Linked DNA regions of Homo sapiens: all the other regions are linked to region 2. Evidence: promoter capture Hi-C in 16 types of primary human blood cells and fetal thymus (Javierre and others, 2016). All regions are on one chromosome and are shown on one strand. Each heading gives the region's core, a stretch centred on a gene start or on the middle of the fragment in contact. The rest is flanking DNA. Distances are from core to core; before and after follow the strand shown.

The links. The method cuts DNA at HindIII sites, captures the fragments that hold promoters and counts their contacts. A CHiCAGO score of 5 or more calls a contact.
Region 1: a contact is called between a fragment that was not itself captured here and the fragment with the promoter of KIF13A in region 2, in 2 of 17 cell types (endothelial precursors and megakaryocytes). The highest score is 6.0, in endothelial precursors.
Region 3: a contact is called between a fragment that was not itself captured here and the fragment with the promoter of KIF13A in region 2, in 1 of 17 cell types (neutrophils). The highest score is 5.7, in neutrophils.
Region 4: a contact is called between a fragment that was not itself captured here and the fragment with the promoter of KIF13A in region 2, in 1 of 17 cell types (neutrophils). The highest score is 7.7, in neutrophils.

What each region holds. Positions count from the first base shown.
Region 1 is chr6:17,846,141-17,852,575 of GRCh38, reverse strand. KIF13A (kinesin family member 13A) reads left to right here. Exons shown (of 39, transcript NM_022113.6): 7 at 534-621; 8 at 2,119-2,253; 9 at 3,087-3,199. LOC105374953 (a long non-coding RNA gene) reads right to left here and starts at 2,142. Exons shown (of 3, transcript XR_001744007.2): 1 at 2,055-2,142; 2 at 1,512-1,601. The HindIII fragment of the contact is 3,444 bases long and covers 487-3,930 here.
Region 2 is chr6:17,984,521-17,991,148 of GRCh38, reverse strand. It overlaps KIF13A (kinesin family member 13A), which reads left to right and starts at 3,514. Exons shown (of 39, transcript NM_022113.6): 1 at 3,514-3,740; 2 at 4,005-4,095. The coding sequence starts at 3,686. RefSeq lists silencers at 2,939-3,438, 3,809-3,928. The HindIII fragment of the contact is 11,131 bases long and covers 1-6,628 here.
Region 3 is chr6:18,210,468-18,216,644 of GRCh38, reverse strand. It overlaps KDM1B (lysine demethylase 1B), which reads right to left. Exons shown (of 22, transcript NM_001364614.2): 18 at 4,041-4,157; 19 at 2,864-2,989; 20 at 1,516-1,638. Among named protein-coding and RNA genes, the nearest start is that of DEK, 51 kb to the left of the region's middle. RefSeq lists enhancers at 1,203-1,322, 4,930-4,979 and a silencer at 1,533-1,582. The HindIII fragment of the contact is 4,647 bases long and covers 2,212-6,177 here.
Region 4 is chr6:18,157,511-18,164,018 of GRCh38, reverse strand. KDM1B (lysine demethylase 1B) reads right to left here. Exons shown (of 22, transcript NM_001364614.2): 3 at 4,037-4,136; 4 at 2,565-2,692; 5 at 1,095-1,184. The coding sequence starts at 4,123. Among named protein-coding and RNA genes, the nearest start is that of KDM1B, 5.3 kb to the right of the region's middle. The HindIII fragment of the contact is 4,494 bases long and covers 1,018-5,511 here.

The DNA of each region.
Region 1 (6,435 bases), core at 959-3,458, 140 kb after region 2:
CATAGTGGCATGGGCCTGTAGTCCCAGCTGCGTGGGTGACTGAGGTAGGAGAATCACCTGGGCGGGAGGTTGAGGCTATAGTAAGCCGGGGTCATGCTACTGCACTCTAGCCTGGGCGACAGAGTGAGACCCTGTCTCAAAAAATAAATACCATTTTAAGACATTATCTGCTGAGAATATGCTTATTTATGAAATAGCCGAAAGGTTGATTTGATCTGGCATGTTTTTTGGTTCCCTTTTTCCCCCAATCCTCCCCAAAGTATAACTGACAGCCTAACCCAGGAAGGTTTGTGACTAGAGATAGAATGTTTAAAATAGTAACATACTTTAAATAGAAATCAGAGCATAAAACACATTTCTCATGTTAAACATTGTTTTGCTAATCCAAATAAAGTAGCTTTTAGATTTGTTGGGGGGAGGAGTCATTTAAAAATTCTTTTGAAATTGTTATCTTAGTTACTGTGTACTTAAAGAGAAAGAAAAGCTTCCAGCTTTGGTGTGATTCATTTATTCCTTTTTCCTCCCTCCCGCAGGAGTAGACAGTCTCTTAAAGTTCGAGAACATAAAGTTTTGGGACCATATGTAGATGGTTTATCTCAACTAGCTGTCACTAGTTTTGAGGTAAGTCATTTTTTTTAAAATGTGATTAAAAGCTGACTATAAATCAAAGTATGTAAGTGATACTGAGTATATTTTATGTGGATGCTTTATAGCAGAATGATACTACTCAGGGCCTCAGAAACCCAGTATCAGCACACCGCAAACAGAGAGGAAAAGGGCTTTTAATCACACTCTTCAAGCTGCTTTGTTGTGAAGGTTTTACAGTATGGCCGGGAGGCCCAGTGTTTTCAGGTTGCTGCATATTTTCACTAATACTACTCTGTTAAAACTGTTCTCCCAATGATGCCAGTGACATCCTTCTAGACATGTGGTATTCTAAACAGTATTTGGCAGTTAGTACAGCCCTTTCTTTTTGGCAGGGTCTCCTGCCTTGGTTTCTGTCACTTCTGGCTCTCCTGTTTTTCTGAATCACTCCTCTTGCCATTGACCGGCCTGTTTTACTTTATTTACTCTTTGACTTATATGCCTTGTTAAGATCTGACTCAAGATTCTGCTTCTATTTCTATAGTGATTGCTTTGGAAATCTCATAACACAAACTGCTATCTCTGTTGCTAAAGGATGTGAATGAATGAGTGAATGCACAGAGAAACAAGCAAATCCCTGCACTTACTTTGTGCTGTTTGTGGGATGTGGCTGGCCCATTATCACCCCAGACTTAGTATGGCTAAAACTAATCTGTGCAGTGATTCTCTCCAGCCATTTAAATCAAGGTATATATAGAATTGCTCTAATCGGAAATAGAGCACAGTGATCATTTTAAAAAGGTTTCGATTCTGAAATGAATGGATACTTTTTTGGTCTAAAGGTGCTAACTCAGCTCCTTCACTGAGGTCCCTGGTTCTTAGCTCAGTGTGGTTGAGGTAAGTGTTGATGTTATCCTGTCACTTACTAGTAGGAGCCAGGGTGCTCTATTTGCATCCCAGCTCTACCTCTTACTGGATTTGGGGAAAGTTGCTTGACCTCCACGAACTTCAGCATCCTTGTATGTAAAAGCAAGAAAATAAAGTTCATTTAGCAAATATTTCATAAGATCCCATAGGCTCTAGGCATTCTAGGAGCAAGTGTACAAAGTGGAATAAGGAAAAAACCCTGCCATCAGGGAGCCACAGTATTGGAGGAGGGAGGCAGACAGGCAGGCATCAGCGGGTTGGTAAGCACAGGAGAGTAAGAGTTAAATCAAGTCACTGCTATTATTGATTATCGGAGTGCTCAATAAATATTAGCTATCCCAGGAACCCAAAAAGGAGAAAATAGGGACTCAACTGAGAAAGAAGACAATTGGGAAATGGAAAGAATTAGGGAAACATTTCATACATTACAAAGTCTTGAGTGAGGTGGAAGCTCAAACCATGCTCAATGGAGGAGCGGCAGGGAGGTTTCTATGGAAGGGTGGTGACAAAGGCATCAGAGGAATCATAATTAATACATATACCTGGTGTGCAGGACTACATTCTTGTGTTTTTGCTTATGGTCTTTTCCTTATGCTTTGCCCCTAGGATATTGAGTCATTGATGTCTGAGGGAAATAAGTCTCGAACGGTAGCTGCTACCAACATGAACGAAGAAAGCAGCCGCTCCCATGCTGTGTTCAACATCATAATCACACAGACACTTTATGACCTGCAGTCTGGGGTAAGGGATTAGGCAGAACCTTTTTGGAGTGGGGGTGGAAGAACTGAAAGTGTCCATATAGGTAAAGTCTTTCATGGTTGGGTTCAGTGGCTGAGAATTGTATGTTGGCTCTTCTGCTTACTAGGTGAGCTACTTTGCTTATCATTTAATTTGTTAGGTCTTTCTTTATATTTGACTTTTTAAAAAATTGGATTTTGGCCTGGTGCAGTGGCTCCTGCCTGTAATTCCAGCATTTTGGGAGTCTGAGGCGGGAGGATTGCTTGAGGGCAGAAGTTCATGACCATCTTGTACAATATAGCAACACCCAGACTCTACAAAAACAAAAAAGAAAAATAATTGTATTTCTTGTGCAAAGTCCCTAACAAGTGTGATGACATCACCATACAGCTTTTAATATATATCCTTTCATGCTGAAATTCCCATGGAAACATGTCAGCTTCATAGCCATTGAGGGATATTAAAGAGGACACCACAACCTTTAGCCTAAACCTTTTTTCAAAGGAAGAAGGATTTGACTTGAATGTGCAGAAATCCTCATGTCCTCATATCTCCTCATAGGCATTTTAAATCTCCAGCTTTCTGACTGTATTCCAGAAAGCTGGGTGTACTTGCTACCCAGCTGCAAAACAAAATGCTACATTTCTACGCCTATTTAAATGTTAACTATGAAATTAATTGCTGGTTCAAATAACTCTTCTGACCGTTTAAAAACTTAAGAAATTTGCCATATGAGAGTGGGATGGATTGCTCAATTATAGTGCTAACATATATGTAGATATCCATGTGGTTTTTATTGATAAGTTTTTCTTCTCTCTCTCGTTTCCTATAACTAGAATTCCGGGGAGAAAGTCAGTAAGGTCAGCTTGGTAGACCTGGCGGGTAGCGAAAGAGTATCTAAAACAGGAGCTGCAGGAGAGCGACTGAAAGAAGGCAGCAACATTAACAAGTAAGGTGGCTGGTCCCAGAACAGCCTGGGTGATTTCCTTCTGGAGGGGATTTGTTGCATTATGAGGGTCAGATGGTTCTGATGTACAGGTTGTTTAAAGTCTGTATAGCTTTAGTAAACTGGGCTGAAGAAAAACAACAACAACCTGTGTCTGTTAAGATGTATGAGGTTTTTGGCCAGGCACGGTGGCTCATGCCTGTAATCCCAGTACTTTGGGAAGCCAAGGCGGGCAGATCACCTGAGGTCAGGAGTTTGAGACCAGCCTGGCCAACATGGCAAAACCCCATCTCTACTAAAAAGGCACGGTCACGCACACCGGTAACCCCAGCTACTTGGGAGACTAATGCAGGAGAATCGCTTGAATTTGGGAGGTGGAGGTTGCAGTGAATCAAGATTGCACCACTACACTCCAGCTTGGGCAACAGAGTGAGACTATCTCAAAGGAAAAAAAAGGATGTATAAGGATTTTGTTTAGGTACGGTGGCTCACAACTATAATTCCAGCATTTTGGAAGGCCAAGGTGAGTGGATCACTTGAGGCAAGGAGTTCAAGACTAGCCTGGGCAACGTGACAAAACCCCTTCTCTACCTGGTCTCTACCCCGTTTGTACCCATCTCTACCCCCTCTCTACTAAAACACAAAAATTAGCTGGGCATGGTGGCACACGTCTGTAATCCCAGCTACTCAGGAGGCCAAGGGGTGAGAATTACTTGAATCTGGGAGGTAAAGCTTGCAGTGAGCCGAGATTGCTCCCCTGTACTCCAGCCTAGGCAACAGAGCGAGACTCTGTCTCAAAAAAAAAAAAAAAAAAAAAAAAAGATGTACGAGTTTTAATTAAATAAAACTGCATGGTGCAGCTTGCTCAAAAATGGCACAAATACCATATTCTGACATATGTGGAAGCTAAAAAAGTTGATCTCATGGAAGTAGAAAGTAGAATAGTGGTTACTAGGGGCTGGAAAGGGGAGGCCAGGGGGAATAACGAGAGGTTGGTTAATGGATACAAAATTACAGCTAAATTGGAGGAATAAGTTCTAGTTTTCTGTAGCACTGTAGGGTGACTGTAATTGACAGTATGTTGTATATTTTCAAATAGCTAGGAAAGTGGATTTTCAGTGTTCCCAACACAAAAAAATGATAAGTGTTTGAGGTGATGGATATGCTAATTACCCTAAATTGATCATTATACATTGTATACATGTATCAAAATATCACACTTTACCCCATAAATATGCACAATTGTGTGTCAACTAAAAATAAAAGCAAGCCAGGCACGGTGGCTCACGCCTGTAATCCTAGCACTTTGGGAGGCTGAGGTGGGTGGATCACCTGAGGTCAGGAATTTGAGACCAGCCTGGATAATATGATGAAACCCTTCTGTACTAAAAATGCAAAAAATTAGCCAGGCATGGTGGCAGGCGCCTGTAATCCCAGCTACTCGGGAGGCTGAGGCAGAAGAATCTCTTGAACCCGGGAGACAGAGGTTGCGGTGAGCCGAGATCGCGCCACTGTACTCCAGCCTGGGCAACAAGAGTGAAACTCCATCTCAAAAAAATAATAATAATAATAGTACCTACTTCACCGATTTGTTAGGGATAAAATGACCATAATGTGCTTAGAAAAATGCCTAGCACTTAGTATGCAGTGAATAAAAATTAACTGTTATAGCTGTTGTTTTTTATAATCAGGATAACCATTATCATGATTCCAAGTTCAACAGAAAGTAGTTTAGTGTGTACTTGTAATCTTTTTCTGTTGAGCTGTAATAACTTAGGGTTTCGTTTAGGACAGAATGTGACAAGAGGAAATGTATTCAGGAACATGTTTGCACAGCTTGCATTTAAGATGATGTTAACACATTATTATTTTCATATACAAAAGTTTAAAAATTAGAAGTAAAATAGTGGCCCCTCTATCAGATGGACACAGCCGTACTCACAGGGAAAGACCACTACTATAGGAAGTTAATCATCCAGTCATTCTGTCTCCTGCTCTGATAACAAAGGATTTTGCTGTATTTCCTGACAAGGCATTGCAAGATTCCAGACTGGCACTGCAGCCCTGCATGCCAAAATGAGTTCAGAAACCAGGATGGGGAGGCAGAAATGGGAGTGTGAAGGAGCAGGTTTCAAAGAAAAGATTGCCACGCCTCGTGGAGATTCATTTGCAAGTGCTGGGCCATGCCTGCCGGTGGGGCTTGTGGGATCACACTAGAAAGTCTGTAGACTTGTTGGAATTTAGAGTGTGTGTGTGTGTATGACTGGCGTAGATGTGGAATGACCACTAACTTTATTGAGCTCTTGCTAATGCCAGGCACTATTCTGAATGCTCCATATGCAATGTCACATCAGCATCAAGGCATGGGTCCGTTATCCCCATTTTACAGATGAGAAAACCAAGACAGAGCAAGTTTAATGATGTCTCCCAGGTCACCAAGTTCTAAGTGTGGATTTTGGAAATGGTTGCCGTCAATTGGTCTCCGAGCCCAGGCTCAGCCACTGTGGCTACACTTGTGGGGATGGCTGTGCATTCTGTTTGCCAGGCAGCATCTAGATGATACTTTTGTCCCAGAGTAAATGTAAATAGTGCCCCCTTAATTTTGGATGTGAGTTTATGTAGTGTCCCTTACTGGATTACCCCAAGGCTTGGTGATTACGTGATTTAGATCATTTAGTAACTGGCTCTTTTTTCATAATGACTGGTTGAATTGAATGGAATTCTCTCAACATCTTACCTCTTTTCTTCCTTCCCTTTTTTTTTTTTTTTTTTTTTAAAGAAATGGGGTCTCGCTATGTTGACCAGACTGCTCTTAAACTCTTGGCCTCAAGCAATTTTCCCATCTTGGCCTCCCAAAGTGCTAGGGTTATAGGTGTGAGCCACTGCTTCTGGCCTCGTCTTATTTACATACTGTCTCTTTCACAAATGGATGTGTGTATTCCTTACTAGTTTATGAGATATGATCTTCCTTTTTAAGAGTTCTTTATACTTTTCAGAGCATTTTCATACACTCTGAGAGTCTCATAACATGTATTTTTATCTCTTTTTAAAGATGAGGAAAGGACTGATGCTTAGAGACGTTGAATAACATAAATAAAATCCCAGCAAACATTTAGTATGCCTTGGCCGGGTGCAGTGGCTCACCCCTGTAGTCCCAGCATTTTGGGAGGCTGAGGCAGGTGGCTCGCTTGAAGTCAGGAGTTTAAGACCAAGCTAACCAACATGGTGAAACCCTGTCT
Region 2 (6,628 bases), core at 2,265-4,764:
TGAGACTGAGTCTCACCCTGTTGCCCAGGCTGGAGTGCAGTGGTACAATCATGGCTCACTGCAGCCTTGACCTAGGCTTTCTAGCAATCCCCCCTGCTTCAGCCTCCCAAGTAGCTGGGATCACAGGCACACGCCATCACGCCTGGCTAATTTTTTATTTTTTGTAGAGACAGAGTCTCCCTATGTTGCCCAGGCTGGTCTCAAACTCCTGGGCTCAAGTGATCCTCCCACCTTTGCCTCCCAAAGTGCTGAGATTTCAGGCATAAGCCACTGCGCCTGGCCTCTGTATTAGTTTCTTAAGACTACTGTAACAAATGACCATGAAATGGGTGGCATAAGACAACAGAAATTTAGTGTCTCAGAGTTCTGGTGGCTAGAAGTCCCAAATCAAGGTGTCAGCAGAGCCGTGTTTCCTCCGGAGGCTTCCTTTCCTCCTCCTAGCTTCTGGTGGCTCCTGGCAAACCTCGGTGTTCCTTGGCTTGTGGCTGCATCACTCCAATCTCTGCCTCTGTCTTCACATGGTCTTCCTCCCTGTGTATCCAAATCCCCCTCTCCTTTCTCTAATAAAGACACTAGTCAGGCCAGGTGCGGTGGCTCACACCTGTAATCCCAACACTTTGGGAGGCCGAGGTGGGCAGATCACCTGAGGTCAGAAGTTCGAGAGCAGCCTGGGCAACACAGCAAAACCCCATCTCTACTAAAAATACAAACATTAGCTGGGCATGACGGCACATGCCTGTAGTCCCAGCTACTTGGGAGGCTGAGGCAGGAGAATCGCTTGAACCTGGAAGTGGAGGTTGCAGTAAGTTGAGATCGTGCCACTGCACTCCAGCCTGGGCAACAGAGCGAGACTCTGTCTCAAAAAAAAAAAAAAAAAAAAAGACACTAGTCATTAGATTTAGGGACCATCCTAACCCAGTATGGCCTCATCCTAATTTTATTTCTGCCAAGACCCTGTTTCCAAATAAGGTCACATTCACAGGTACTGGAGGTTATGGCTTGTACATACCTTTTTGGGAGTTACAAATTCAACCCTCTACAATTCCCACTGATAGAAACTACCAGAGCAATGGCTTAGCATAGGGATGGTATCTTGCTTGTGAAAAGGTCCTGGATAAAGAATTTCAGGAATGGTGGGAGGTAATATTAAACAGAGAGGTTTTTTGTTTGTTTGCTTGTTTTTGAGGTGGAGTTTGGCTCTTGTTGCCCAGGCTGTAGTGCAACGGTGCGATCTTGGCTCACCGCAACCTCCGCCTCCCAGGTTCAAGCGATTCTCCTGCCTCAGCCTCCCAAGTAGCTGGGATTACAGGCATGTGCCATCACGCCTGGCTAATTTTGTATTTTTAGTGGAGACGGGGTTTCTCCATGTTGGTCAGGCTGGTCTCGGACTCCCGACCTCAGGTGATCTGCCAGCCTCGGCCTCCCAAAGTGCTGGGATTACAGGCGTGAGCCACCGTGCCCAGCCTGAGAGTTTTTTGAACAATAGAATACCATGCACGATTAAAGGATAAAATTTTAATTTTGTGAAAAATCAGTCTGGAAGCTGGATTTAGGAGTGATTAGAGGAGGCAAAGCTAGGAGGGTTAACAGGATGTCTCAGCAGCCCAAAAGTGAAGAGGTAAGCACAGACCTAGATTCTTAGCCTCAGAGGGCTGGAAATTTCACCTCTTTCTGAGCAGCAGCTGAGAGCCTGTAGCCTAAAGCCTACAACAGTGTTTGTAACATAGTAGGGCGCTCAGAACACATTTGTTGAACAAGTGAATGGACAGGTAAAGTGAGATTGCAGCAGCAGGAATGGAGAGGAGGAAAGATGCAACAGGCCCTTCAGAGGTAGACTGAGATAGCTGGCTCTACAATAAGGTGGGGCTGAAGTATTTGTCCTTCAGTGTACACAGGGGACTGGTTCCAGGAACATCCAAAACCATGCATACTCAAGTCCCACAGTCAGCTCTGCAGAACCCACAAATAGGAAAAGTTGGATCTCTCAGTTTTGAACCTGCCAAATACTGTCTTTTCTTTTTTCTCCCTTTTTTTTTTTGAGACAGGGTCTTGCTTTGTTGCCTAGGCTGGAGTGCAGTGGTGCGAACATGGCTCACTGCAGCCTCAACCTTCCAGGCTCAAGTGATCCTCCCACCTCAGCCTCTCCAGTAACTAAGACTACAGGCACCTGCCACCATGCCCGGCTATTTTTTAAATTTTTATGTTTGGCAAGATGGGGTTTCTTTACATTGCCCAGGCTGGTCTCGAACTCCTGGCCTCAAGTGATCCTCCCGCCTCGGCCTCCCAAAGTGTTGGGATTACAGGCGTAAGGCACTGTGCCAGAGCACGAATACTGTATTTTCAATCAGATTTTGGTTGAAAAAAAGCCACGTGTAAGTGGACTCGTGCAGTTCAAACCCGTGTTGTTCGAGGGTCAAGCGTAGCATCACCTCGGTTGGAGGCGGACGGACCCCTCTCCTAGCACCTGCCGTACACTGTCTAGCATAATAAGTCTCCACGCCCTCTCTTCCACCTTAGCGTGTGCCTCTGCATCATGCTATTCATGTTTCTGTGTGTCCTCAACAGCACCCTGCACACAGTAAAACCTCAATGCATCTTCCAATAAGTGGATTTCTAGATTTAAGCAAAATCGAAAGATTCCTGGATCTAAACTCTGGATTTTTGACTTCTGTACGCTTCAAAATGCCTGGCACTCGGTGAGCGCCCCTTAAGCACTTGTTGAACCAAACAGAATAAATCGGATTCGCCCAGTTCCGCCCTGGCAGCGAGGTCTGCATTTGGCAGGATGACAGAATCCATTGCTATTAAATTCTTATGTAAGAGTTAATGGCCCTCCCAGCCCACTTGACATCCCTCCCGAGACAAGAGAGGCCGGGAAAGGAAGGGAGAGCACTATTTACAAACATACACTGTTTCGGTGGTGGATTCACAGATTCATTTCTAGTCTCGGTTCACCACAGAGATCTTAAAATACCGCTGCAGGCTCCGTGTGGGACAGAGGGGGCGGCGTGCCGGGACTCGGAGGGGAAGGCCTGCGCACCCAGCGCGGCGAGCCGTGGTCCTTGCTGCCGTCCCGGGGCTCCGGGTGGCAGCGGCCCCAGAAGGCGGCTCGAGCTCACGGCGGTGTCCGGGGGGGGGCCCCGCGGGCGCCGGTGCAGGCTTGGCCTGGGAGGTCCCCTGGGGAAACAATGCGTCCCGCCCCGGACTCCAGCCTCCCCTAAGCGCCGCGCTGCTCGCCGCTCCTCTCACTGCCGTCCCGCCGCTCCAGGGGGCGCCGCGCGTGGCCGTGTCCGGCCTCTCCCGAGCCCCGGCGGGTGACGGGCGCGGAACATGGCGGCGCGGGGCCCCGGGCAGCCGCGAGGGGCCGCGGCGCTGCGGTCTCGGCTGGGGCGGCGCGGCTAGAGCTGCGCCTGGGCCCGCCGGCGAGGCCTCCTCCCCGCCCGCCGCCGCCGCCGCCGCCGCCGCGCCCCGCCCCGCGCGCCCGCCCCTCCCCGGGCCGCGGCCGTGCCCCGCGTCGCGCTCCCCCGGGATGGCCCGCGCGCCTCGGCGCTGCCTCTCGGAGCTCACGGCGGAGCGGCGGCGGCCGCGCTCGAGGGGCGCGCGGCTGCAGCGGCGGCGGCGCCGCGCGTGAGGGGCCGCCTAAGGCCGAGCGGGCGCGGCGAGCGGCCGGGCGAGCGCAGCCAACATGTCGGATACCAAGGTAAAAGTTGCCGTCCGGGTCCGGCCCATGAACCGACGAGGTGAGGAGCTTTCCGCTCTTTTTTATTTCTGCTCGGGCTGAGGGCGGGGGCAACTTTAGAAACTGCGGGGCCGGGACGGCGAGAGCGCGGCCGGGGCCGGGGGGCCGGGGCGGAGGCGGCGTCCGCGCTGGCCGTGGTGCCCGGGGCGCCGTCTCCAGGCTCGGCCGCCTCCAGGGACGGAGCCCCGCTCGGCGCGGCTGGCGGGCGGGCGGGCTGGAGGCGCGGATGCTGGACTTTGCAACGTCCCTTTCTCTCTGCTTTCAGAACTGGAACTGAACACCAAGTGCGTGGTGGAGATGGAAGGGAATCAAACGGTCCTGCACCCTCCTCCTTCTAACACCAAACAGGGAGAAAGGTAAAGCGGGTTCCGAGAGGGCGGCTGGGAGGATCCAGCCTCGCGGGGTCCCGCAAGTTTGAGCCAGGAAAATGGGAGTGCTCTTTCCTATTGTTAGGAGGACGGCTTCAAGTTTGTCGCCGGCTCCTGTTTGAAGCTGTTGCAAGTCCAAGTTCCTCTCCTCCCTCGCCCCCCTTCTCCTCCATCTAGAGCGGCGGCAGGCAGGGCACCCTGGCCACAGCACCAGTCAGCTGAGCCCGGGCGGGCTGCGAGGCACCCGGGAGGGAGAGGGCCGGATGGGACCCCATAGGTGATTCGTCCAGCGGCCACATTTTACAGACAGGAAAACTGAGGCCCGAGGCGGGCAGGTGACCAGCCCACGACCTTATTGTTCGTGGAACCCAGTGTCCGTGATTCTTTTCATCACTGCAGGGTTTGTTTCCTTTGGCAGAATTGTTTAGGGACAGTGTGTCTAAAATGGGAGGAAAAAATAAAGCAAAAGTCTTGTACGATGTAGACTCAGGCTGGACTAGTTAGTATCTATTTTAGTTGTTGTTGCTGAGTTGAGATAATGCCTCAATGTAATGCGCGAATTTTGATTTTCAAAGAAACAAAAGTAGGGCCCTGAACTGTATAGACACTGAGGGATGTTTAAAAAGGGGCTGTATTTACTAGATGGCAACATATTTGCATTTGAAAAGTGGTAACTGTTGGATCCTTATTAATTCCGTTCTGTTCCATGCAACAGTATGGGTTAACGCCCCAAAATAATTTGAATATTTGGCATTTTTCTAGTAAGCCTCTGAGAAGAAATCGGTTGGAATTCATTCAATATAATAATGCAGTAGCTTGTAAATATATATATGTGAAAAAACGGGAGAGTTTACAATATTAATTTTCATTGGAAATGAATATGAGTTTGTGTTTCCACGAATCACCTGTTGATCGATGGAATACAATTTAGTGAATTTCCTTCTTCAGAGATTTTCACTGAAGAGAGACTCTGAAGCAGGGTTTGTGACATTATTGCTTAGAGAAGCAATGCCTCCATTCTATAATGTGTGGTGTTCAAGCTCAGTTTTGCCAAATTTGGGGAAAGAAATCATGAGGCGATAAGATTGGGGATTCTTTGCTTTTCGTGTTGAGCATAGCAGTTTTTATCCAGTTTGCAAACATTCTGCTACCTTTAGCAGATTCTGGTGGTGATATTAAATAGCTAAGCTATATGTAAAATGTTGTGTTTAACACTGAATGTAGTGTTTATTGTACATTGTACTGAATGTTGTCTAGTAATGGATGTATTTTTAGATGCATTTATAGCAGTGTAGATAGTATAGCATATTTCATGGTGATAGTAAGTAAACTCATTGAGTACATTAAATATTTACAGATTAAATTAGATGCCCATATCACCAACGAATGTCCCCTCCCCCCACCCCCCCGCAAACTGCATATTGTTTCGGGAAAAAATTCTGTTGGGTCAGATTCTTGAAAGCAGTCTGGGGGAACAGGTAGAATACTTTTTAGCTCCTGTTGTGTAGCCGTTACTTGTTTTCCTTGCTGGCTTGGCACCTGCTCCTTGTCACTCTTAACCATAAGCAGTGCGACTGTTAGCTACTGTTTAATGACATGAAGTGTTGTCATTTGTGAAGAGAAACAGATTTGATTTTGTGGGATTTGGTACAATCTATAACTGTGGACAGTTGGTTCCAAATGCTAAGTAATCAGTTGATCATTTTTCGGGCTGAACCACGTTAGTTACTAATCAGGATCTTTTAGGTAAAGATTTGAAGGGTGATTTTGGGATCTATTCATCTGCTTACTTACGATAGTCCCTTATCTGGAGTTATAAAAATAGCATTGAAATATGGGTACTCTCGTGTTTTGTCCTTCTGACGGATCTAATTCTTTGAATAGCAGATGAGCTTTCTGTGGGATTCTGTCTTGAGTACCGGTCATTTCATTTACAGACAAACTGAGTAGTCAACAAAACAGTGCTCCTTGTACATTAGGATTACTGTCTTTGCACAGATGAAGACACCAAATGCATTTTTATTTTCATTATGCAGCTTGGTTTCATATTTCTCCACAGACTTTTCCCTTAAAGTAACAGTGCATTTAAAAATAGAAACAATTCCTCCCTTGGGCTCTGGGTTGATTAATTGCAGCAGTGCTTCATGCTATGTTTGCAATTCATTTCTGTCATTGGTTTTTAGATAGTGCTCAGGGCAGGGCAAAGGTGAAGAGTAGAATACTGAGAATGTTATTATTTTTCATATCTGCAAGTCCAAGGTTTGAAGTGTAAGAGGTCTTTAAATGCATATTGGCAAACCTGTGTCAAATTGAGAATTACTGTTTTTCTGAAAGTTGCAAGAAATTACCAATGAATTAGCCATGGATAGAAATTGAAGGTTAGTGGGTGAAAGTTTTCAGTCTTACCAGTAAAAACAAGTGAGAATGCATTGACGTCCAGGGAAAAAAAAAAAAAACAGATGGGGTCAGCTTTCATTGTTTCCCCATTTTACAAAACCAAAGCCAAGACTGTGTAGCTAGG
Region 3 (6,177 bases), core at 3,286-5,785, 220 kb before region 2:
ATCTATTTCTGGAATTTTCCATCAAATATTTTCAGACCTTGGTTGACCACAGTAACTGAAACCATGAAAGCAAAGCCTCGAGTAAGAGAGAGCGACTGTAATTTGTCAGCTGGCCTCCAACAAGCAACACGATAAACAATATTTCTATAGAAACGGTAAGCTAAGTTCCAAACAACTAATGTAAAAAACAAACTTCTGAACAAAAACCCCAAGCAAGGGATTGCATCATTAGATAGATCCTCTCATATAAAATTAGCAACAAGGCTGGCCATACAGTGGCTCACACCTGTAATCCCAGCACTTTAGGAGGCCGAGGTAGGCGGATCACTTGAGGTCAGGAGTTCAAGACCAGCCAGGCAAACATGGTGAAACCCTGTCTCTACCAAAAATACAAAAATTAGCTGGGTGTGGTGGAGCACACCCATAATCCCAGCCTACTCGGGAGGCTGAGGCAGGAGAATCGCTTGAACCCGGGAGGTGGAGGTTGCAGTGAGCCAAGATTGTGCCACTGCACTCCAGCCTGGGCGAAAGAGTGAGACTCTGTCTCAAAAATAAATAAATTAAAATGAAATAAAATAAGCAACATATCTGAATGCCCCTTTCTCTTTAACTTACATAACTTTTGAGTCATTTCACTTCTATTTCTGCTCCTTTATTTCAAAAAGATATAAGCCATGGCCATTTACAAATCTCCAGAGATGGTGAGATTTAGTACACTGGCAAACAAAGTATCCTGAGCTCCGTGGAGAAAAGAGACTATCTGCATGTGTGCGATATTAAAAAAAGCTGGCCAAGGCTCCTCTTAAAAGGAAAGCTGTAGTCAAAGCTTCTAGGGCTTCAGTAAATATAGAATCCACGTAGAAAATACCGAGCCTTTTATATCCTTACAAAAAAAAAAAAAAAGGGAAGTGTGTATGATGTGAGAAGAAAAAAAGGAAGGAAGACAATTGTGTAAAAAAAGGTACAGGGCACTGTTACAGGCAGAACCGTGTCTCCCTCAAATTCCCATGTGGACACCCTAACCCTCAGTGCCTCAGAATGTGACTGTATTTCGTCGCATGGTCTCCAATGGGTAATTACTTTAAAGTGAGGTCGCCGGGGTGAGCCTTAATCTAATCTGATTTGTGTCCTCATAAGAAGAGGAGATGAGGACACAGACACACACAGAGGGAAGCCCATGTGAGGACACAGGGAGAAGACAGCATCTACCAGCCAAACAGAGAGGACCCAGGAGAAACCAACCCTGCCGACACCTCGATCTCAGGCTTCCAGCCTCCAGAACTGTGAGGAATAAGTTTCTGTTGTCTAAGGCAGCCAGTCTGCGGTACTCTGTGATGACAGCCCTCACAGACTAATCTCAGTGCTGAGGTGGGCAGTGGGACTCTGAAAGAAAGAAGACTGTGGCCTCTGCCTTCCTTCCTGTGATTCTCAGTGACGCTGGCTGCTTGGGCTTCACACCTGCTCTGGATAGCAAGCACGGCTTGCCCCTTTCAAGGAGGGCTTCCTCTCTCTCACCTGCTCCTTGAACAGCTCCCGGAGCGTGGCCATGCACTGCTGCAGCACCTGTTTGTCATCCAGGGTCCTCACGGATGCGACAGCCTCCCCGGCAATCACAGACATCAGCACGCTGTGCTTCTTCTGGAGACATGAAAGGAAAAGCAGGAGGTCTGTGAGTGCTCAGCTCCCACAGATAAGGGCCTCTTTTTTTTGTTTTTTGTTTTGTTTTGTTTTAAATGAGACAGAGTTTTGCTCTGTCACCCAGGCTGGAGTGCAATGGTGCAATCTTGGCTCACTGCAACCTCTGCCTCCCAGGTTCAAGTGATTCTCCTGCCTCAGCCTCCAGAGTAGCTGGGATTACAGGCGTCTGCCACCATGCCCGGCTAACTTTTGTATTTTTAGTAGAGACAGGGTTTCACCATGTTGGCCAGACTGGTCTCAAACTCCTGACCTCAGGTGATCCACCCACCTCGGCCTCCCAAAGTGCTGGGATTACAGGCGTGAGCCACTGTACCCGGCCAAGAGCCTCACTCTCACAAGTTAAATGTCACTATTTCTGGCTGTCCCTTATCCGCACGTCACTCGCCAGTCCATTTTCCTCGCAAACACTCATTATTCATCCATCCACTCTATTGCTTCCTGCTGGAAAAGAAAAACACTAAGAAATGTAAATAGCAACTTTAAGGTTCCCTTGGCTGTTCACTAATTAAAGCTTGCTTCGGAAGAAGTAGAAAGAGATGGAGAAGGAAAATCTGCAGATAAAACAATGAAAAATAAAAAAACCTCAAATGGTAAAGAAAATCTGCCCTCGGCTCCTATGTGAAACCTTTTAAGACAAAGTTTCTTGAAACTGAAAGTCAGAAACAGCCATGATTCTTTCGTGTGGCAGTGACATGACGGCAGAGAAAGTGACCACCCCCGTCCAGCTCTGGGTATGCCATTCTCCTCTCTCCTTCCTTCCCTCAGCTCTCACATCTGCTGACACTCACACCCTCCCTCACCAATCATACACCCTTTCCCAGCTCCCTAGAGGACCCTCAGAGAGGAAGTTTCAAGCACCACTCATTGACTCTGATGTCTCCAACTTCACCTAAGAGGAATTCCCCCATAGCCTGAAATGACAGTTTCCACAAGCATCCAATTCATGTCCCAGGGAGCAACATGAGGACTTTAAGAAGACATGGCAAATACTGGGGCTCCTTTCCTATAGGAAAATGTCCAGTCCAAGTGTCCTCCCAGAATATAAACATAGACCCAGGGTCTCCATGATGTTCGTTAGTTCCTGAGCTTGATAGGTGAGTAATTATCACATCAAATTCTAAACTTTAAGACGGAAATTCAAACCACAGTTCACGAATGATTTTACCTGGGGATCCATGTCATAGAACACGGCAAAAAGCCCTCGCTTGCTGGCACTGGGAGGAACGTGACCAAAAAAGTCAGCCCCTTGTACTTTACTGTCCCAAAATCTATACGGAAATTGCAAGGCAATCTGCAAAGTGAGCAGAAGAAAGGTGGTTAGGTGTCTGTCGTCACAAAACCACAGGCAATATCTAAGCAGCAACCTGTAGCTCTACTCTAAAACAAAGACACTGCCCGAAAGAACAACCCCAAATACCGCTCTTTCCATTCTCCTCACCTCCTTTTTTCCCCCTGTGAACTCCTTGGTTGTTTTTTGTTTTGTTTTGTTTTTTGGGTTTTTTTTTTTTTTGAGACGGAGTTTCGCTCTTGTTGCCCAGCTGGGAGTGCAATGGAGCGATCTTGGCTCACTGCAGCCTCCACTTTCCGGTTTCGAGTGATTCTCCTGCCTCAGCATCCCAAGTAGCTGGGATTACAGGTGCACACCACCACGCCCAGCGAATTTTGTATTTTTAGTAGAGATGAGGTTTCACCATGTTGGTCAGGCTGGTCTTGAACTCCTGACCTCAGGTAATCCATCCTCCTCAGCCTTCCAAAGTGCTGGGATTACAGGCATGAGCCACTGTGCCCAGCCCAGCTCCTTGCTTTTGATGCCACTCAGTTCCATTCCCATGGATAATGGAACCCACTGGCAACCTAGAAGCTAGTCTGAAGATGCCCAGCATTCCTAAGACTCACTCCTGGGCGTATGTCCCTAAGTTAAACTCTCACTACTCATAGGTCTGTCAGAATCTGCTGCAGCACTGGCCCATTCTGCTACAGGAGATATTAAAGGCAGGAGAAATAAACCTCTGTCCTCACTGGGGCCAATGAGTGGAAAGCAGACAAGAAAGAAAGCAGAAGGGGGGAAAAAAGGGGATAAAAGAATTGCTTATACCAAATTCAAATTGTGAATAACAAGATTCTTTCTCCTAAAGTCAAAACTCACAGACCTCAGCCAGCTCTCCTCCTTTCGTTTTGATAATATTCTTCTGTGTTCTTCACGAACAATTACTCAAATGAAAAGGAAATCCTTGAGTTTTATTTGTATTTAGATAGTACCCACTACTTCTCCATATCAGAAGTTAACATCTATCATCTGACATTAATCTCTTTCTTGCTGAGGATGAGGTCATTTCAGTCACCTTTTCAATGATGCCTGCGCCTAAGCTGTTGATAGCCTTCATCTTCTTCTCTGACAACGGTGGATTAAACTGAATGGCACCTTTCTGTAGTAAAGCCAGTGGTACAGTGACTAATACCTGTGGAAAATAATTAACAGTTAACAAACAAACAGCAACAGAACCTCACACTACCACTACACTGGTATCAACAACCCATGCTGTTATACTGGCAAGAACAAGGGCTGCCATGTGCAACTGTGCAGGTTGCTCACTGCACAAGGGTGCCAATGCCTGGCTAAGCAGAAGTGGCAACCACAGGGAAGAGTGGGCAAAAAACGTCCTGATGGTGAATAATCATCTTAGATAAGAAGAGTCAGCAGAGGCCAGGTGCGGTGGCTCATGCCTGTAATCCCAGCACTTTGAGAGGCCGAGGCGGGTGGATCACCTGAGGTCAGGAGTTCAAGACCAGCCTGGCCAACATGGTGAAACCCTGTCTCTACAAAAATACAAAAATTAGCCAGGTGTGGTGGCAGGTGCCTGTAGTGCCAGATACTTGGGAAGCTGAGGCAGGAGAATCTCTTGAACCTGGAAGGCGGAGTTTGCAGTGAGCCGAGATCACGCCACTACACTCCAGCCTGGGCAACAGAGCGAGACTGTCTCAAAAAAAAAAAAAAAACAAAACCCCGAAAAGCAGTACTTGAGGAGGAAAGAGCCCTAACTATGGAGTCAGGAGAACTTTATGCATCATTCCTAATACATTCTACTGTGTGGCCAAGCCTGCCACTCATCTCTGCCATACATCTATAAAATGAAGGTAGTATCTGCCCCACTAACCTCTGAGAATCAGGGTGATGCTTTAAAACTAAAATTTACAAGATACATCAATATGCTTCATAAGTAGTGAAACACATCACAAACATTGGGAATTGGACATTTCTGGCTCCAGACCCCATTATCGTTGCTACAATCAGGACGCCATTACTACTACTGCCAGCTCCAGAATCATGCCACATACAGAACCACGTGCACCAGCAACATGCATGCCTTACGGCCTCCTTCTTGACTTGTGGTTACTGACTAAACCCTGCAACTTTCACGAACCCTGCTGCAGAAGAACCAAACACCTCCAGCATTGTGTGCTCTCAACAGAGGCAGCAGAAGGGAAGCGAAAGTCAACCTACACCTTCTACATCTCATGCAAGTGCATCAGATTGGCTGGGCTGGATGGATGTTTAGAAACCTGCTGTAGGGAGTTGGGGAAGAGTGTGTGTATTTGCTTTCTAATATCTGCAGTACAGGATGACACCCTAGGATCAGAGTGGAATGGAGTTGAAGACCAAGCACCCAATCTACCTGAGGCTTCAAAGATTTTGTATATTTGGCTTAACTCTCAATTCTAGGATCACAGGAAGTTCAGAGTTCTCTGATTTTGTCACTATTTTCTGCCACATGAAAATATTTTTATAAAGTATAAAATATGCTCTCTATCATCAAGAAGTTTATAATCTATTTATAGATAATTACCATGCAACCAAAAAAAATGAGGCAAACCACAACAAAAAACCAATTACTATCCAATTAAATTGCAAGAAAATAAATAAAATCTAGATTTTTTTCCCCTTTAAAGAGACAGGGTCTTGCTCTGTTGCCCCGGCTGGAGTGCAGTGGCATGATCACAGCTCACAGCAGCCTCAAACTCCTGTGCTCAAGTGATCCTCTTGCCTCAGCTTCTTGTAGTAGCTGGGACCATGGGTGTGCAGCACGATGCCCAGATAATTTTTTTATGTTTGGTAGAGACAGGGTCTCACCATGTTGCCCAGGCTGGTCTCAAACTCCTGGCCTCAAGCCATCTTCTCGCCTCAGCCTCCCGAAGTGCTGTGATTACAGGCATGAGCCACCCACGCCCACAAATCTAGATGTTTTCTTAATGACAAAATAGCACTGAAAAGCATAAGAACTTGAGTAGCCCAGGTGCAGTGGCTCACACCTATAATCCCAGCATTTTGGGAGGCTGAGGCAAGAGGATTGCTTAAGACCACGAGTTCAAGACCAGCCTGGACAACATAGGGAAACACTGTCTCTACAAAAAAAAAATTTTTAATTAGCTGAGTGTGGTGGCATGTGCTTGTGGTCCCAGTTACACAGGAGGCTGAGGTGG
Region 4 (6,508 bases), core at 2,015-4,514, 170 kb before region 2:
AAAGATCAGGTAGGAGTAAATCAGAAAGATGTATGTATGTGTGTGTATATATATATATATATGACCTGAACTGCACTATCAATCAACTTGGTCTAGTTGACACTGATAGACCCACCTGACAATAGCAAAATACACATTTTTCTCCACTGCATGCAGGACATTTACCAAGATACACTACATTACGGGCCATAAAGCAAACTTTGACAAATTTAAAACGTAGAAATCATACAAAGTATATTCTCAGACCATTGCTGAACTAAACTAGAAATCAGTAACAGAAAAATTGCTGGAGGTGTCCCAAATATTTGTAAATTAAACAATTTACTTCTAAATAATCTATAGATCAAAAAGGAAAACTCAATGGAAATTTAAAAATATTTTGAACTAAATTAAAATAAAAGTTGTCAAAATTTGTGAAATATCACAACCTACTTGGACAGAAATTTATGGCATTTAAAAACGCATTTATTGGAAAAGAAGAAAGATCTAAAAATAAATAATTGAAGCTACTAATTTATGAAACTAGAGAAATAAAAAATTAAACCTAAAGCAAACACAAGTAAAAAATAAAAATTAGAGCACAAATGAAATCGAAAACAATAAAATAGAATCAACATCTCCTAGATGTTCCAGAACTTTGACTCAAGAAATAACTGTTTCGCTGGGTGCAGTGGCTCACGCCTGTAATCCCAGCACTTTGGGAGGCCAAGGCAGGCAGATCTTTTGAGCCCAGGAGTTTGAGACCAGCCTGGACAACATGGCGAGACCCCATCTCTATTAAGGAACCCAGAAGTTGGAGGTTGCAGTAAGCTGAAATTATGTCTCTACACTCCAGCCTAGGCAAGACTCTTGCCTCAAAAAAAAAAAAAAAAGAAATGGCAGATATTTTTTGATCCCTGAGTGTGCACACACACAAACATGCACACAAACTACAACATCAAAGTTCTCGTCCAAGTTACAGTCATCACAGGCATGGCTGAAAGAGCTGAATAATTCAGTAAGCCTCGAGACTAAGCTTTAATCAGCTGACCACACGCACTGCCCCTGCCACGGTCCCCTTCTCCAGGGAAACCTCACACAATTAGTGAACATACCTTCTGTAGTAATGGTCAAAGCATTCATTACAGAAATGTTCCCCACAGGAGAGATGATACCATCGGGAGGTGTAGCCATTTTTGGCACATCTGAAAATAGTGAAAAACATATAGCTTTGGTAATGAATAAACATTTCTCCTCCCATTTTTTAAAAAACATCTTGCAAGCACCATCTATGAACCCATTTTGCATTATCTCCACTTAGCCCCTTAAGGACAGGGGAAACAGGAATGGATTACTAGTAGATAATAACACACAGGAAGGATGCAGGGACTTAGGCCATGGGACCTAACCTAGCTGGCTGCCTGGGGCTTAGCAGTCTTAAGAAGACTCCTTGGGGCAATGATAGGGTTTTATGACACAAAAGGACAGATGCCACTGTGCTTGCTGCAGGCTGCATATGTGGACATGAGAGAATAACGTGGGGCCCAGTACTGAACAGCGAGGGAATCTGGTCAGCTGAAATCTGAACATCAAGCAGGCAATTTGGCAAAGATAACTTGTCAAACAGTTGATAATATAGCAAGAGAATGAAAAATCATGCCACTATGAACACGATCACCACGTCTTTGTGTTTATTTTTAATATTTTTTTATTTATTTGAGATGGAGTCTTGCTCTGTCACTCAGGCTGGAGTACAGTGGCACGATCTCAGGCTCATTGCAACCTCTGCCTCCTGGGTTCAAGCGATTCTCATGCCTCAGCCTCCTGAGTGGCTGGGATTACAGGCTTCTGCCACCGTGCCCAGCTAATTTGTGTATTTTTAGTAGAGACAGGGTTTCACCATGTTGGCCAGGCTGGTCTGGAACTCCTGACCTCAACTGATCCGCCCATCTTGGTCTCTCAAAGTGCTGGGATTACAGGCGCATGCCACCATGCCTGGCCCTCTTTGTGTTTAAAAACAAATAGGATTTGTTTTCTCGATTTTATTGAACCTTAACCCTTAATTGAATATTTTCCTCTGGAAGTAAAAAAGAAAAAAAAAAAGAAGATCATACTTGTGTCACCCCACAATAAAAATGGCAAGGCTGCAGTTAGCTGTAGTTTCTATGAGACCTGTATGTGCGTATGGGAAGAGGTGGCATGTTATATGAGAGAGAAAAACACAACGAAAAGTAAACAAACACTGGTGTCTACAGAAAGCTCATGAGTTCTCTCTACTGTCTCACCACGACATACACCATCCCACCCTCAACCCTTGGAGAGGTAGATATGGTTGGCTGGATTTGAGGACACTGTGTTGCAAAATTGACATGGGTGTGGCCTCTCCCAGTAGGCTAGGGATAAGTAGGGAGGGCCTTGAGGAGGGTGTGGTGTGTACAGAATGTCTGGGCAATGTCTCTATTATTAGATTAGATGACTTATAGTATCTGTATCTATCTTTAGGAAAACTATCTACAAGGATGATGTTTCCACAAAGAACTTCTCACAAGCAGAAATGGGAGGCCAAGACACACATCTAAACAGACCTTTCAGAAGCACTTGCAAAGCACACAGGACATGTTGCCGTACAGCCTGCCTTTTCACATTTCCTGTACTTCTTCTCTGAGCCACCATCTTCATCCTCATCTGTTGTCTCTGTTGCTTTCTTCTTCGCCTAAGGGAGTCACAGCTGATGTTAAAATTTCACTGATGATGGCAAAATGACTAAGGATGAAGGTTCACTACTGAAATCACAGCTGAGTTCTAAACATGAAGGTCAAAAACATCATGGCAGTAGGTTAGGGATGACAATACAGCAATTTCCTGGTGACTGCATTGTGCAAGTAATTTACTAACTTGCTAGAGATATAGAAATAGCATTTTAACAACAGATGTCTAAGCAAAGAACTAAATTCATATGAGTCTTTCTTAGAAAAAAGTGACATCAGCTGGGTGTGGTGGCTCATGCCTGTAATCCCCAGCACTTTGGGTGGCTGAGGTGGAAGGATCACTTAAGCTCAGGAGTCCAAGACCAGCCTGGGCAACATACCGAGACCTCCTCTCTACTAAAAATAAAAAAAAATCAACCAGGCATTGTGGCACACACGATTGTGTCACTGTACTCCAGCCTGGGGGATAGAGGAGATTGTCTGGAAAAAAAAAAAAAAAAAAAGTGACATGAGTCAAAAAAAAAAAAGTCATTCCCCAAATTGAGATTTGTTTTTTCTTTATTTAGAGCAGTTATACCCTCTATTTTTTTTTTTGAGACAGAGTCTCACTCTGTCGCCCAGGCTGCAATGCAGTGGCGCCATCTCTGCTCACTGCAAGCTCCACCTCCCAGGTTCACGCCATTCTCCTGCCTCAGCCTCCCGAGTAGCTGAGACTACAGGCGCCCGCCACCACACCCAGCTAATTTTTTGCATATTTAGTAGAGACGGGGTTTCACCATGTTAGCCAGAATGGTCTGGATCTCCTGACCTTGTGATCCACCGGCCTCGGACTCCCAAAGTGCTGGGATTGCAGGTGGTGTAAGCCACCGTGCCTGGCCCCCTCTATTTTAAATAAAAAGCTAGAAAAATTATAGAGAAAGAATTACATTGTTCAATTTTTTCTTTTAAAAGAATAAAAGCCCTACCCAAAAAGCCCTATACATAACCCTCCAATAGCATTCAACCAATTCCAAGCTGAAGTCCAAATTCCTATGAATGACATCCAAGCCAGGCATGATCTGGCCCCAGCCTCACACTCTGGAAGCAACCACACAGCCGTGAATCTCTGAACATCCTATGCTGATTCACACTCTACGCCTTTATACTTACAGTTCCCTCTGCCAGATAATGCTTCTATTTTGTATATTCTATCATGTTATCACACTGTGTTATGACCGTACTGAGAATTTCTCCCCTAGAATACAAGCAACTTGAGGGCTGGAGTAATCTTTTCAACTCTAATTCTCCAGTCCCAATCAGTAATTCTGCATGCTCAAAAAAGGCTTGTTGAATGAATAAATGAACACTACCTGCCTACCGGAGCTCCTCAAAGGAAGGCTATCCGGAGAATGATCAAAAGATGCTTTTTTCTTTGTCCTCCCCCGTGGAGTTGCCATTACATTAAATAATCTGCAAAAGAAAAATCAGACCATTAAATATTAGCATCTGCAAATATTTTTAACAGTCTGGAGCAAGTTATTATACACTTTGGTAGGTAAGAATGTATGTCAGATTGCCTAAATACAAAGCTACAGTTTTCTTTCTTTTCTTTTGAGACATTCTTGCCATGTTGCCCAGGCTAGCCTGGAACTCCTGGGCTCAAGCGATTCTCCCACCTCAGCTCCAAGTAGTTGGGAATACAGGTGCACGTCACCACACCACCTGGCTCAAGCCACCATTTTCAAGTTCTTAACCTCTCTAAGCCTCAGTGTTCTCACACATAAAATGGGCACCATAAGCATTTACTATAGCACTGGCATGAAGTTTAAACAAGATAACCTATTTAAAGCACCAAAACTGGCATATCGTAAGTACTCAATAAACATTACCTATTAGTAGTTATGCACATTAAAAGATACAAAATGAGAAACATGCCACATGAATGACCAATAAACAAACCACACTATGTTTATAAAATTCAATGAGGAAAACCACCTAGTTTTGCCTATGTTCCTCTCCATTTTACTGTGTCTTCTTAGCAGTTCCTGCACTTTGATCTCTTATTACACTTTAAAAAGAAAACTCATGGCTGGGCACAGTGGTTCATGCTTGTAATCCCAGCACTTTGCAAGGCCCAGGCAGGCGGATCATGAGGTCAGGAGTTCGAGACCAGTCTGACCAACATTGTGAAACCCCGTCTGTACTAAAAATACAAAAATTAGCCAGGCATGGAGGCGCGTGCCTGTAATTCCAGCTACTCAGGAGGCTGGGGCAGGAGAATCGCCTGAACCAGGGAGGCGGAGGTTGCAGTGAGCCGAGATTGTGCTACTGCACTCCAGCCTGGGCAACAGAGCAAGACTCCATCTCAAAAAAAATAAAAGAAAACTCATTCATTCCTTTTCAGTACAACTCAACAAATAAATATCAAGAAAACCATCTAGTCACTACTGAATATACAGATCTAAATTAGATAGAAGCACTGGTATCTTCTACTGGAAAAAATTTCCCAAACTAGTCCAATAACAGCATGGTTAAACATATATTAAGAACCAAAGTCTACAAGAGAAATAATGTGTAGCAGCTATGAAAGATTAAGAGCTAACAGAATTTTTTTCAATTAGATTAAGGAATGAAAAATGCTTAGCATAAGTACTCAGTAATATACAGAATCTATAATTATCATTCATCTCCTTCCTTGATCTATTGGATTTAACTACACATACACACAGAAAATGATAAATGAAAAATAAATAGGACATACCTATGGATAAAGAATTTGAAAGTGGAAAAGTGGAACCATAAAATACAAATTCCAGATATATAATCTTAGTCTTGGAGAAAAGCTTTAAGGAGCTTGTAATCCTATTGTTTCATATTTGTGAGCTGTATTAACATTCATAAGAGTACTTTTCATGGATTATTAACATCCTATGGAAAAACTCATTTTGCCATCTACATTGACTTTGACACATCCTAACATCAATGTTACGGATGATTTTCCTTTGACTTTTTTTTTTTTTTTTTTTTTTGTGAAGGAGTCTCACTCTATCGCCCGGCCTCCTTTGACTTAATCTTCACTTTCTCAGAAACAATAAATATTATGTTAGCTGTGAACACATAATCCCTACATATTCTGAAATGCACTATAGTTCTTTAAGCATTAAATAAACTGCCATTTAGTTCTACAACATCTATCATACTGTTGGAGAAAATGCTAATGATGTTCAAAGTACTATCCACCGGCCAGCGCGGTGGCTCACGCCTGTAATCCCAGCACTTTGGGAGGCTGAGGTGGGCGGATCACGACATCAGGAGATCGAGACCATCCTGGCTAACACGGTGAAACCCCATCTCTACTAAAAATACAAAAAAATTAGCCGGGGGTGGTGGCGGGCACCTGTAGTCCCAGCTATTCGGGAGGCTGAGGCAGGAGAATGGCATGAACCCCGCAGGCGGAGCTTGCAGTGAGCCGAGATCACACCACTGCACTCCAGCCTCGGCAACAGAGTGAGACTCCATCTCAAAAAAAAAAAAAAAAAAAAAAGGACTATCTACCTATAATTGTTATACCCAAAGAAGGCTTTTTGGACTTTATTTTCAAAAGGCTGTCCACTCTAACAAATCTCTTCATAGACACATATAAATATTAATTATTATATACATAAATATACAAATCTCTTCATTTATATATAAAATATACCTGACATTATTCATAACATGAACCACAAATATATGTAAATATATAGTATTTGTAAATGTATAGTATATGTAAGTATTATAGCAAAAATATCTGAAGTCAAATGTGTGGTTTAGGAACATAAATGAATCAGCCTAGGTTCATG